Regions from separate parts of the Homo sapiens genome. Here region 1 is linked to region 2. Evidence: promoter capture Hi-C in 16 types of primary human blood cells and fetal thymus (Javierre and others, 2016). All regions are on one chromosome and are shown on one strand. The core of a region is centred on a gene start or on the middle of the fragment in contact, and the rest is flanking DNA. Distances in the headings are between cores, read along the strand shown.

Region 1 (5,810 bases), core at 2,593-5,092, 310 kb before region 2:
TGAGCTGACCTACCCTTCACAGAGCTGGGGCTGGTGTTTAATCTGCACAGGCTGCATGAAGTTTTGCATCCTCTTTCCTGGAGCCTGGCCTGGCCTGGATGTTAGAGTTCATGCTGCACCCTGGGAGGGTGAAAGCTGGCCCCACTCAGAGCTGTCCATGCCACTCCCAGGCCCCAGCAAATAGCAGGTGTCAGTGAGCGGGTGAGAGGCATGTCTTCTGCCTCCTGGGACTCTGAGCTTCCTAGAACTGGGGCCACATTTCCTGCCTTATCTGTTTTCTCCACTGAGCAGGGCTGGGGCTGGAGGGGGCACGTGTGGGGCCAGCCAGCAGGAGCCCGAGGCGAGAGGGTCTGAACCCCCTGCCTCAGAGCCTACCGGCAGAGAGACCAGGGGCCTTTCATTTCCCAGCATCCCCGACATCCTGCTCATCTGCTGCAGAAACAATGAACACGGGAAAAGGGCAGGATGTCCCAGAGGTCGTCCAGAGGAGGAGAGGACAGGCTGAGTCAAAGGTGGGGAGGGAGGAAGGACAGAGGTCAATGGCACACGTGCCATGATCTCATCAGCTCCTGAAAAACAATGACTCGACCTTCTGAGGGCCCCAACTGAGCTCTGGCAACCATATGAGGCCAGTCATTTCCTCAGTGTTCAGATGAGGAAGAGGGGGGCTCTCAGAGGAAAGGGAATGATCCCCAGGTCACATGGTCAGTAGGCACTGGAGCTGGGACTGAAACCCAGGGAGACAGACGAGAGACGGGCCAGGGCTGCGAGGAGGCAGAGAGGCAAGGGCTTCGGCCTCCCCATTTCCAAGCTTGCATTCCCAGGAGTCCATTCATATGTGAAAAAAATGGCTTTTTATTTATTTATTTGTTTAGAGACAGTCTCGCTTTTTGCCCGGGCTGGAGTGCCGTGGTGTGATCATAACTCACTGTAGCCTTGACCTGGGCTCAAGTGATCCTCCCACCTCAGCCTCCTGAGTAGCTGGGACTATAAGTGTGCACCATCACACCCAGATAATTTTTTAAATTTTTGGTAGAGATGGGGTCTTTCTATGTTGCCCAGCCTGGTCTCCAACTTCTGGGCTCAAGTGATCCTCCCGCCTTGGCCTTCCAAAGTACTGAGATTACAAGCATGAGCCATTGCGCCTGGCTTATTTATTTATTTTTAGAGACAGGGTCTCGCTCTGTCACCCAGACTGGAGTGAAGTGGCACAATCATAGCTCAGCGCAGCCTCAAATTCCTGGGCTCAAGGGACCCTCCTGCCTCAGCCAACAAAGTAGCTGGAACTACAGGCATACACCACCATGCCTGGCTAAATTTTTTTAGAAATGGGGTCTTGACCAGCCCAGGCTGGTCTTGAACTCCTGGGCTCAAGTGATCCTCCGGTCTCAGCCTCCTGAGTAGCTGGGACTACAGGTGCACACCACCACACCCGGCTAATTTTTTTGTGTTTTTATTGTAGAGACAGGGTTTCACCATCTTGCCCAGGCTGCTCTCGAATGCCTGTCCTCATGTGATGCTCCCACCTGGGCCTCCCAAAGGGCTGAGATTACAGGTGTGAGCCACTGCACCCGGCCTGATAGCAGAACCTGCTTTTCTTCTACCAGCCTCTCTTGGACTGTGGAAAAACCTCACACCAACATCTCCTTGTCCAATCGCCTCTCTTGGACTGTGGAAAAACCTCACACCAACATCTCCTTGTCCAATCCAGAGGCTTCCATGGAATCACTCTCCACCCCAAGACCCCCCAACATCTCCTGTGTGCTCATTGAGTAACAGACCATCTGCTGCTTCCCCCGTCCCCAACCATCTCCCCAAGGTCCTGGGCATTGGTCCCCTGCTAAGGGGATCTGTCGGGACCTGCCTCCCAGAGTGAGGGTGGCGATTTCTGCATACATTTCCCCTATCTGTGGCTCCCTTTTCCTGGGTTATGGGCCCATCTTCCGTGCCTCCACACCCTTTCTTTCTACCTCCAGCTGTCCCTGGGCTCTTTGGGACCCTAACCACTGGCATCAATCAACCTTCTATGCCCAGTGTGGACATCAAGGACATCTCCCCAGCAAGCTCAGGCCTTCAGCCCAACATTCTCCTCCTTGCTGTGCTCAGCTCCATTGAATTCTCCATCCTCCACCCCACCCTGCAAATCTGTTTATCTTTGCTTTTCTGGTTTCTTTCATTTTCCTCTGCCTCACCCAGATTCCAGACAAATTCTTATTTATTTATTTATTTATTTGAGATACAGTTGCTGGCGGCTCACTGTAACCTCTGCCTCCCAGGTTCAAGTGATTCTCATGCCTCAGCCTCCGGAGTAGCTGGGATTTGCAGGCATGTGCCAGCACACGCAGCTAAAATTTTTTTTTTTTTTTTTTGAAATGGAGTCTCGCTTTGCTCGCTTTGTTGCCCAGGCTGGTGTGCAGTGGCATGATCTGGGCTCACTGCAACCTCCACCTCCTGGGTTCAAGCAATCCTCCCACCTCAGCCTCCCAAGTAACTGGGATTACAGGCCTGGGCTACCACATACGGGTAATTTTTATATTTTTAGTAGAGACGGGGTTTCAGCATGTTGGCCAGGCTGGTCTTGAACTCCTGACCTCAAGTGATCCATCTGCTTGGGCCTCCCAAAGTGCTGGGATTATAGGCGTGAGCCACAACACCCAGCTTGGATTATGGACAAATTCTTTTGAATGAGACTCTGTCCCCTGCCTCCAACTTTTCTGCATCCCAGCAGCTGGCATCATCCCATGTCCCAGAGACTTCACACATACCTAATGGGGCTCATCTCAACCCTCCTGTTCCTCAGCCTGATGCTGGGGAGGCCAGGCTCAGGGTCAGTGTGTTGGCCTGCAGCCCGATGTGTGCCCTCCTCCCTGGATCTCTTCCTTCTGGGTTGGGACGAAGGCGTGAAGGTGGTTTGGAGTCATGAGTTCAGGCTGAGACACCTCAGACCTACCTGACCTGCTGGGGGATTCACCCTGCCAGCCTCCGAGATGCAGTAGGATGAGAACACGCACTCTGGGGATAGGAGCCTGGATGTGTGTGTGTCTGGAGGTTGGCCATTCCCATCTTCCAGCGTGTCTCGTGTGACAGGGACCAGTGTGGAAGTGTCTCTGGGTTGGCCCTTAGGCATAGGCCAGTTTGAGAATAGGAGACAGGAGGTGAGAGGTCGCCATAGGTGGGGTTTGCAGAGGGTGGTATTAGAGCTTTGCTGTCTCTCTGATCTTTCTTGGCCCTATTTGGGGGTGACTTCCAGGATGACGCCCTTGCTCCTCCCCCACCCCCAACCCTGGCAGGTCTTCCCATGTGTCCTCTGTAGCAGTCTCAGCCACACCGTGCAGTGGACCACTGCATTGGAGGCATCCTACCTCTTCTTAAGGACATGGTCCCTTCAAGGACCCTGGATGCTGACCTGTCTCCTGTCCCACCTAGCCCACCTATAGCACCTGGCTCAGCAGAAGCTCATGGATGACCTTGAATGACCCCTTCCAGCACTGAGACTTGCTTTCTTCAAACTAGCATCCAGGTCTAGGATTACCCCACTCAGCAGCCTCAGATAACTAAAGGAGCATCTCTAACTGGTGAGGTCTAACCCAATCAAAAGTCTTTTTTTTTTTTTTTTTGAGACGGAGTCTCGCTCTGTTGCCCAGGCTGGAGTGCAGTGGTGCGATCTCGGCTCACTGCAAGCTCCGACTCCCAGGTTCACGCCATACTCCTGCCTCAGCCTACTGAGTAGCTGGGACTAGAGGCGCATGCCACCACACCCGGCTAATTTTTTGTATTTTTAGTAGAGACAGGGTTTCACCGTGTTAGCCAGGATGGTGTTAATCTCCTGACCTCGTGATCCGCCCGCCTCGGCCTCCCAAAGTGCTGGGATTACAGGCGTGAGCCACAGCACCCAGCCCAAAAGCCTTATAATAAATAATATTTAAGAGATGGGTGTTGCTCTGTCGCCAAGGCTGGAGTGCAGTGGCGTGATCATAGCTCACTGCAGCCTCGAAGTCCTGGGCTCAAGGGATCCTCCCACCTCAACCTCCCCGGTACCTGGGACTACAGGAATACACCACCACGCCTGGCTAATTTTTAATTTTTTTATAGAGACTGGGTCTCACTATGTTGCCCAGGCTGGTCTTGAACTCCTGGCCTCACAGGGATCCTCCTGCCTCTGCCTCCCAAAGTGCTGGAATTACAGGCATGAGTCACGGTGTCCCAGCCATTTTTTTTTTTTTTTTTTTTTTTTGAGACAGAGTCTCACGCTGTTGCCCAGGCTGGAGTGCAGTGGTGCCATCTTGGCTCACTGCAACCTCCCCCTCTCAGGTTCAAGTGATTCTCATGCCTCAGCCTCCCGAGTAGCTGAAATTACAGGCATGTGCTGCCATGCCCAGGTAATTTTTTGTAGTTTTAGTAGAGAAAGGGTTTCACTGTGTTGCCCAGGTTGGTCTCGAACTCCTGGCCTCAAGTGATCTGCCTGCCTTGGCCTCCCAAAATGCTGGAATTATAGGCATGAACCACCATGCCCTGTCCTCCTCCCCATTTTTTTTTTTTTTTTTTTTGAGACCGAGTCTCGCTCTGTCACCCAGGCTGGAGGGCAGCAGCACAATCTCAGCTTACTGCAACCTCTGCCTCCCCGGTTCAAGCAATTCTTCTGCCTCAGCCTCCTGAGTAGCTGGGACTACAGATGAGTGCTACCACGCCCAGCTAATTTTTTGTCCCCTTTTCTTTTGAAGAGGAAAAGCAATTCCTGGCCTCCCAGCCTGGGCCAGCCAAAATAGCTTAGGAAGAATGTGGGCAGGCCCAAGACCTCTCACCTCCCTCACCTCCACCTTCCGATCTTCACACTCGTACTGTTTTTTTTTTTTTAATTATTATTATTATTATTATTATTTTGAGACAGAGTTTTGCTCTTGTTGCCCAGGCTGGAATGTAATGGCACGATCTCTGGCTCACTGCAACCTCCGCCTCCCAGCTTCAGGCAATTCTGCCTCAGCCTCCTGAGTAGCTGGGATTACAAGCATGCACCACCACACCCGGCTAATTTTGTATTTTTAGTAGAAATGGGGTTTCTCCATGTTGGTCAGGCTGATCTCAAACTCCCAACCTCAGGTGATCTGCCTGCCTCGGCCTCCCAAAGTGCTGGGATTACAGGCGTGAGCCACCGCGCCAGGCCCTGTTTTCTTAAAATCATTGGTGAACATTCCACTTCTTGGAGACCCGCAATGTAAACTGGGCAAACAGAATGGCTTGTTTTCGTCTGTGCTGGGGCCTGAAATGAGTCAGTGACTAGATTTTAAGGCTGAGGAATTGCGTTTACTGGGTTCATGGACACGAACTCCTGTAGGGCCTAGATATTTATCAGCATGGCCAAGGCCTGGGGGACAGTTTCGAGTCTCAGCTCCAACACTTCCTGCATGCCAAAACTGCGTCAGCCTCTTTTTTTAAATAAACAAAAAACGTTTAGTCACAGAAATGTTCAAGAATATGCAAAAGTAGAGAAAATATAGTAATAAAATCCTGCTTCAGCAGTCATCAACATTTGGCTAATCTTGTTTTATCCATGTACCCTCAAATACTGTTCCGAACCCCAACTTTTTTTTTTCTTGTGACAGGGTCTCACTCTGTCATCCAGGCTGGAGTGCAGTGGCGAGATCCTGGCTCACTGCAACCGCCGCCTCCTGGGTTCAAGTGATTCTCATGCCTCAGCCTCCTGAGTAGCTGGGACTATGGGACTACAGGCACGTGCTACCATGCCTGGCTAATTTTTTGTACTTTTTAGTAGAGACGAGGTTTTGCCATGTTGCCCAGGCTGGTCTTGAACT
Region 2 (5,464 bases), core at 2,704-5,203:
ATGCTCTCTTTGGTTAGAAAAGAAAAACCACGTGTCCCTTTTGCATTGGTCGATTGGAAATCAATCTATTATTCATTGCAGGAGCCGCCTCAGAATGCCATGAAGAGGTAAAGTCCACCTCTGTAGCGAGATTGCCTGGGTTGGAATCTCTGCTCTGCCAGTTACTCTTTGCCAATAACTTTCAGGGTCTTGACCTGTTGCCCATGCTGGAGTGCAGTGATGCAATCATGGCTTCACTGCAGCCTCCAACTCCTGGGCTCAAGTGATCCTTCTGCCTCAGCCTCCCAAGTAGCTGGGGCTGCAGGTGGGCTCCACCAAGCCCAACTAATTTTTTTTTTCTTTTTTTAGAGTTGGGGTTTTGCTATGTTGCCCAGGCTGGCCTCAAACTCCTGGGCTCAAGCAATCCTCCCACCTCAGCTTCCCAAAGCTCTGGGATTACAGGTGTGAGCCACCTCACCCAGCCACTAATTACTATTTATGTCATCTCTGTTGACTTAAGGTCAAGTCACTTAACCACTCAGCACTTCAGTATTTTCTTATTTGTGAAAAGGAATAATAGGCCAGGTGTGGCAGCTCAACATCTGTAATCCTAGCACTTTGGGAGGCTGAGGCAGCTGGATCACCTGAGGTCAGGAGTTCAACCAGCCTGGCCAACATGGCAAAACCCCATCTCCGCTTAAAAAAAAAAATACAAAAAGCCAGGCGCAGTGACTCACGCCTGTAATCCCAGCACTTTGGGAGGCTGAGGTGGGTGGATCGCCTGAGGTCAGGAGTTCGAGACCAGCCTGGCCAACATGGTGAAACCCTGTCTCTACTAAAAATAGAAAATTTAGCTAGATGTGGTGGTGTGCGCCTGTAGTCCCAGCTACTCGGGTGGCTGAGGCACAAGAATCGCTTGAACCCAGGAGGCGGAGGTTGCAGTGAGCTGAGACTGTGCCACTGTATTCCAGCCTGGGCAACAAGAGTGAAACTCCGTCTCAGAAAAAAAAAAAAAATGTAGCTGGGCACGGTGGCAGGCACCTGTAATCCCAGCTACTCGGAAGGCTGAGGCAGAGAAGTGCTTGAACCCAGGAGGCGGAGGTTGCATTGACCGAGATCGAGCCACTGCACTCCTCCAACCTGGGCAACAGAGTGAGACTCTGTGGAAAGAAAGAAAGAGACAGAGAGAGAGAGAGAAAGGAAAGAAAGAAAGAAAGATAATAATAGTACTTAGCTCAGAGCTGCGATGAGGAACAAATAAGTTAATGGATGGGGCTGGGCACGGTGGCTCACGCCTGTAACCCCAGCAGTTTGGGAGGCTGAAGGCTGAAGTGGAAGGATCACTTAAGCCCAGGAGTTCCAGGTCACAGTGAGTTTTGATTGCACCACTACACTCCAGCCTGGGTTACAGAGCAAGACTCAGTCAATAATAATAATAATAATAATGTACAGAAAGTGCTTAGAGCAAGTAGAACTGGTCTGCTCTGTGAGCTCTTAGGATCTCACTTCAGGCATCTGTTGCTGTTTCACCCCGCCCTACTCTGTGCCAGAGGTTGTCCAAGGTGCTGGAGGTCCCAAGCATAGGAGAGCCAGGCAGGTGTGGCCCCATCCCATGCCCATGGGAGCAATCCGGCTGCTGAAAGAAAACAGATATTAAATCATCACACTTGGGGAAGGGCACAGTGGCTCATGCCTGTAATCCCAGCAAAAAAAAATGCAGAGGGCCTGAGAAGGTAGGATCTTTTTAGGTCAGGAGTTCAAGACCAGCCTGGGCAACACAGTGAGACCATTTCTGAAAAAAAATGAAAAAAAAAAATTAGCTGATAGCCAGGCATGGTGGTTCATACCTGTAACCTCAGCACTTTGGGAGGCTGAGATGGGCAGATCACTTGAGGCCAGGAGTTTGAGACCAGTGTGGCCAACATGGTAAGACCCTTTCTCTACTAAAAATATAAAAATTAGCTGGACATGGTAGTGTGAGCCTGTAATCCCAGCTGCTGGGAAGGCTGAGGCACAAGAACCAATTGAACCCAGGAGGCAGAGGTTGCAGTGCAGTCTGCAGTACAAGATTGTGCTATTGCATTGCAGCCTGTGGGGACAGAGTGAAACCGTGTTTCAAAAAAAAAAAAAAATTAGTGGGGCATAGTGGCACTTGCCTGTCATCCCAGCTACTTGGGAGGCTGAGGCAGGTGGATGGCTTAAGCTGGAGGCTGCAGTGAGCTATGACTGCACAACTGCACTCTAGCCTGTGTGACAAAAAAATATGAACAAATACATAAGTCAGGTGACTAAGGGGTCATCTTTATGCCCTGTACCTTCTCTCAGCAACCTCCATCCTATAAGAAAGGGGCAATTGGCCAAAGTATGCCTCTGCTGTAGTTGTAGATTACCATGTTTGCACGATTATCATTGTCAATGCTTCACATTTACACTAGGGCACTATGATTTTCAATGCAGTTTCCATTTTTATTTTGGAGGCCCCTCCCACGAACCTTCTCCCATTTTACTGAGGCCCAGGGAGAATGCACAGGGAGCTGAGCCCCTCCTTTGATCTTAGTTTGGTGGCAGAGACAGGCAGTGATACTGACGATGTGATGGCAGTGTCAGGTGCACTCTGTCTTCACTAGAAAACTGGCCTCCTGGAAGGGCTGGAAGCTCCCACCCTTGACTGCTCTGACTCTGTCTCCAGCAGCTCTTCGCTGTTAGGGCTTCCCTGACAAGAGTGCAGTCCCTCTCGAGGCTGATTAGTGCAGGGCGGGCTCCTCGTCTCCGACCACCGGCTCCTGCTGGCTGTTCCCTCCACCCTCCGTCTCGGGCTGCGAGGCTTCCCTTAACACTCGAAAGGGGGGCCCGTGACCAGGTACGACCACGTCGGCAACGACCAGGACCCTCTTCCGGCTCCGCTCCTGGGCTGCGGGGTCTTCACTCAGTGCCTGCCACGAATCCTCGTCCCCATCTCGCTCAAACACATCTCCCGCCACCACCACGGTGCCCAGAGCCGTGCCGGCCACCACCACGCTCACGTCGCGCTGGCCCCCGTGGCCCGGCGTGGCCCACACCTCGAGCCCCGGGCCCAGGCGCAGGGGCTGCCCCTCACCCAGCCCGTGGGGCAGGTAGCGGCCTCCGGGAAGGCAGAAGTCGTGCGAGACCAGCAGAGCCGCGCCTGGGAACAGCCCCAAGTTCCCGATGTGATCCGAGTGCCCGTGGGTCCCCACCACTAGCGTCACGTCTCCCGGGGCCACGCCCTGCCCCGCCAGCGCCCCCAGCAGCGCCTCCCGAGCCCAGGGGCCCCCGGTGTCCACCAGGATGGGGCCACGGGCCGCCTCCTCCAGGGCGGCCTCTGCGCCGCCACTCCCGCGCGGGGACTCTCGGTGGCTGGAGGCCGGGCCCCGGGTCTGGGGTAGGACCAGGGTCACGGAGCCGTCGGCGCGCACGGCATCGCCCACACCCTCTGGCTCCGCGTAGCCCTGCAGCAGAACCACCACAGAGTAGGGGTCGCCGGGCACCAGCAGAGGGGATGCCCCGCACAGCGGCTCGGTCCGCATGAGGCTGCTCCTGGCAGGGAGGGACGGGCTGGGGAGAAAGGAAATGGAGCAGTGGGCGACCGTCCTGTCCCTCCGCGATCCCCCACCCGCGCTCGGCCCCGCCACTGCCCCTAAGCCTCGGTTCTCTGCCACCCGCCTCCCATTAAGTTGGTATCACCCTCAACCCCTGCCCAAAATGGTATCGCCCAGACTCCCTTCACACTTGGGCCCGCCCCTCCCTCGGCGTCCTCGGCCCCCGCCCCATTCCGTTCGCGGTACGTACGTCCTTGCCCGTCACCCTCCAAAGGCTATCCTTTATGTTTCCCTCCATCGAATCCTAGCCGCGCTCTACCTTGGGCCTCTGCTAGGTCTTGCCTCACTCGAAGAAAGCGCAGAAATCGAAAACGCGGGTGAGAGTTTGTCCTCTGCGGTTCCCGTGTACCCAGATATGGCGGCCGAAGCGGCGCCGCGGAGGTAGCTGTAGTTCCGGCGCCTTCACCGTGTGCCCGAGGAGGCTGCCTGGCTGGGCTCCAGCCTCCTGGCGGTTCTCCGCTCCGCAACCCCAGCAACTTCTTTGCACTGCAGAATTTTGAAGCGCCATTAGCTTTGAGGAGGGTTCATGCTCAGTTGCCCAGGCAGGAGTGCAGTGGCGCGATCATACCTCACTGCAGCCTCAACCTCCTGGGCTCATGTGATCCTCCCGCCTCAGCGTCCCGAGTATCTGGGACCACAGATGCGCACCACCAAGCCCAGCTAAGGTTTCTATTTTTTCTTTCTCTTTTTTTTTGGAGACACGGTCTAGTTCTGTTGCCAGGACTGGTCTGGAACTCCTGGGCTCCAGCGATCCTCCAGTCTTGGTCTCCTGAAGTGCTAGGATTACAGGTGTGAGCCACCGCGCCTGGTCTTTTTTTCTTTTGAGACAGTCTCGCCCTGTCGCCCAGGCTAGAGTGCAGGGGCACCATCATAGCTCGCCCCAGTCTTGAACCCCTGGTTCTAGCGATCCTCCTGCTTCAGCCTCCTGGAGTGCTGGGAATACAGGCGTGCACGCCCCTCTAAATTTTTTTTGGTTTTTTTTGAGACGGAGTCTTGTTCTGTCGCCCAGGCTAGAGTGCAGTGGCGTGATCTCAGCTCACTGCAACCTCCGCCTCCTGGGTTCAAGCGATTCTCCTGTCTCAGCCTCCCGAGTAACTGGGATTACAGGCGCCCACCACCATGCGTGGCTTTTTTTTTTGAGACGGAGTCTCGCTCTATCACCCAGGCTGGAGTGCAGTGGCACGATCTTGGCTCACTGCCAGCTCCGCCTCCCGGGTTCCCGCCATTCTTCTGCCTCAGCCTCCCGAGTAGCTGGGACTGCAGGCGCCTGCCACCACACCCGGCTAATTTTTTGTATTTTTAGTAGAGACGGGCTTTCACCGTATTAGCCAGGATGGTCTCGATCTCCTAATCTTGTTATCCACCCGCCTTGGCCTCCCAAAGTGCTGGGATTACAGGCGTGAGTCACCGCGCCCAGCCGCCCGGCTAATTTTTGTATTTTTGGTAGAGACGAGGTTTCTCCATGTTGGCCAGGCTGCTCTCGAACTCCTACACTCAGGTGATCCGCCTGCCTCGGCCTCCCAAAGTGCTAGGATTACAGGTGTGAGTCACTGCGCCCAGCCTCCAGGCTGGTCTTGACCTTTTGGACTCAAGTGATCCTCCCATCTCCACCTCTGCAGTAACTGGGACTACAGGCGCTGCACCACCAGCCCTGCAGTCTTCTTTGTGTGTGTGTGTGTGTGTAGAATTGGGGTTTCACTATGTTGCTCAGGCTGGAGCTTGAGCTTAACAAGACAGCGGCCATTCTGGGTGCTGCCTCATCGACCAGCTAGCTATGTGTGCCCGGCTGTTGTTTGAAACTTTGGGCCCAGCTAGTTTTTAGAAAAAAAGAAAAAAGTTTAATAGCGATATAGAAAATTGAGCACCTA

What was found. The method cuts DNA at HindIII sites, captures the fragments that hold promoters and counts their contacts. A CHiCAGO score of 5 or more calls a contact.
Region 1: a fragment that was not itself captured here is called in contact with the fragment with the promoter of MBLAC1 in region 2 in 3 of 17 cell types (total B cells, activated CD4 T cells and naive B cells); the score reaches 6.1 in total B cells.

What each region holds. Positions count from the first base shown.
Region 1 is chr7:100,439,347-100,445,156 of GRCh38, reverse strand. PPP1R35-AS1 (PPP1R35 antisense RNA 1) reads right to left here. Exons shown (of 3, transcript NR_187540.1): 3 at 5,280-5,423. Among named protein-coding and RNA genes, the nearest start is that of PPP1R35-AS1, 5.6 kb to the right of the region's middle. RefSeq lists enhancers at 1-44, 1-639, 640-1,324 and a cis regulatory region at 1-839. The HindIII fragment of the contact is 6,057 bases long and covers 814-5,810 here.
Region 2 is chr7:100,125,456-100,130,919 of GRCh38, reverse strand. It overlaps MBLAC1 (metallo-beta-lactamase domain containing 1), which reads right to left and starts at 3,953. Exons shown (of 2, transcript NM_203397.3): 1 at 3,856-3,953; 2 at 2,425-3,552. The coding sequence starts at 3,524. The coding sequence ends at 2,724. CNPY4 (canopy FGF signaling regulator 4) reads right to left here. Exons shown (of 6, transcript NM_152755.2): 6 at 5,412-5,464. It also overlaps a transcript of TAF6 not described here. RefSeq lists silencers at 3,044-3,523, 3,614-3,733 and enhancers at 3,934-4,003, 4,714-5,383. The HindIII fragment of the contact is 8,479 bases long and covers 1-5,464 here.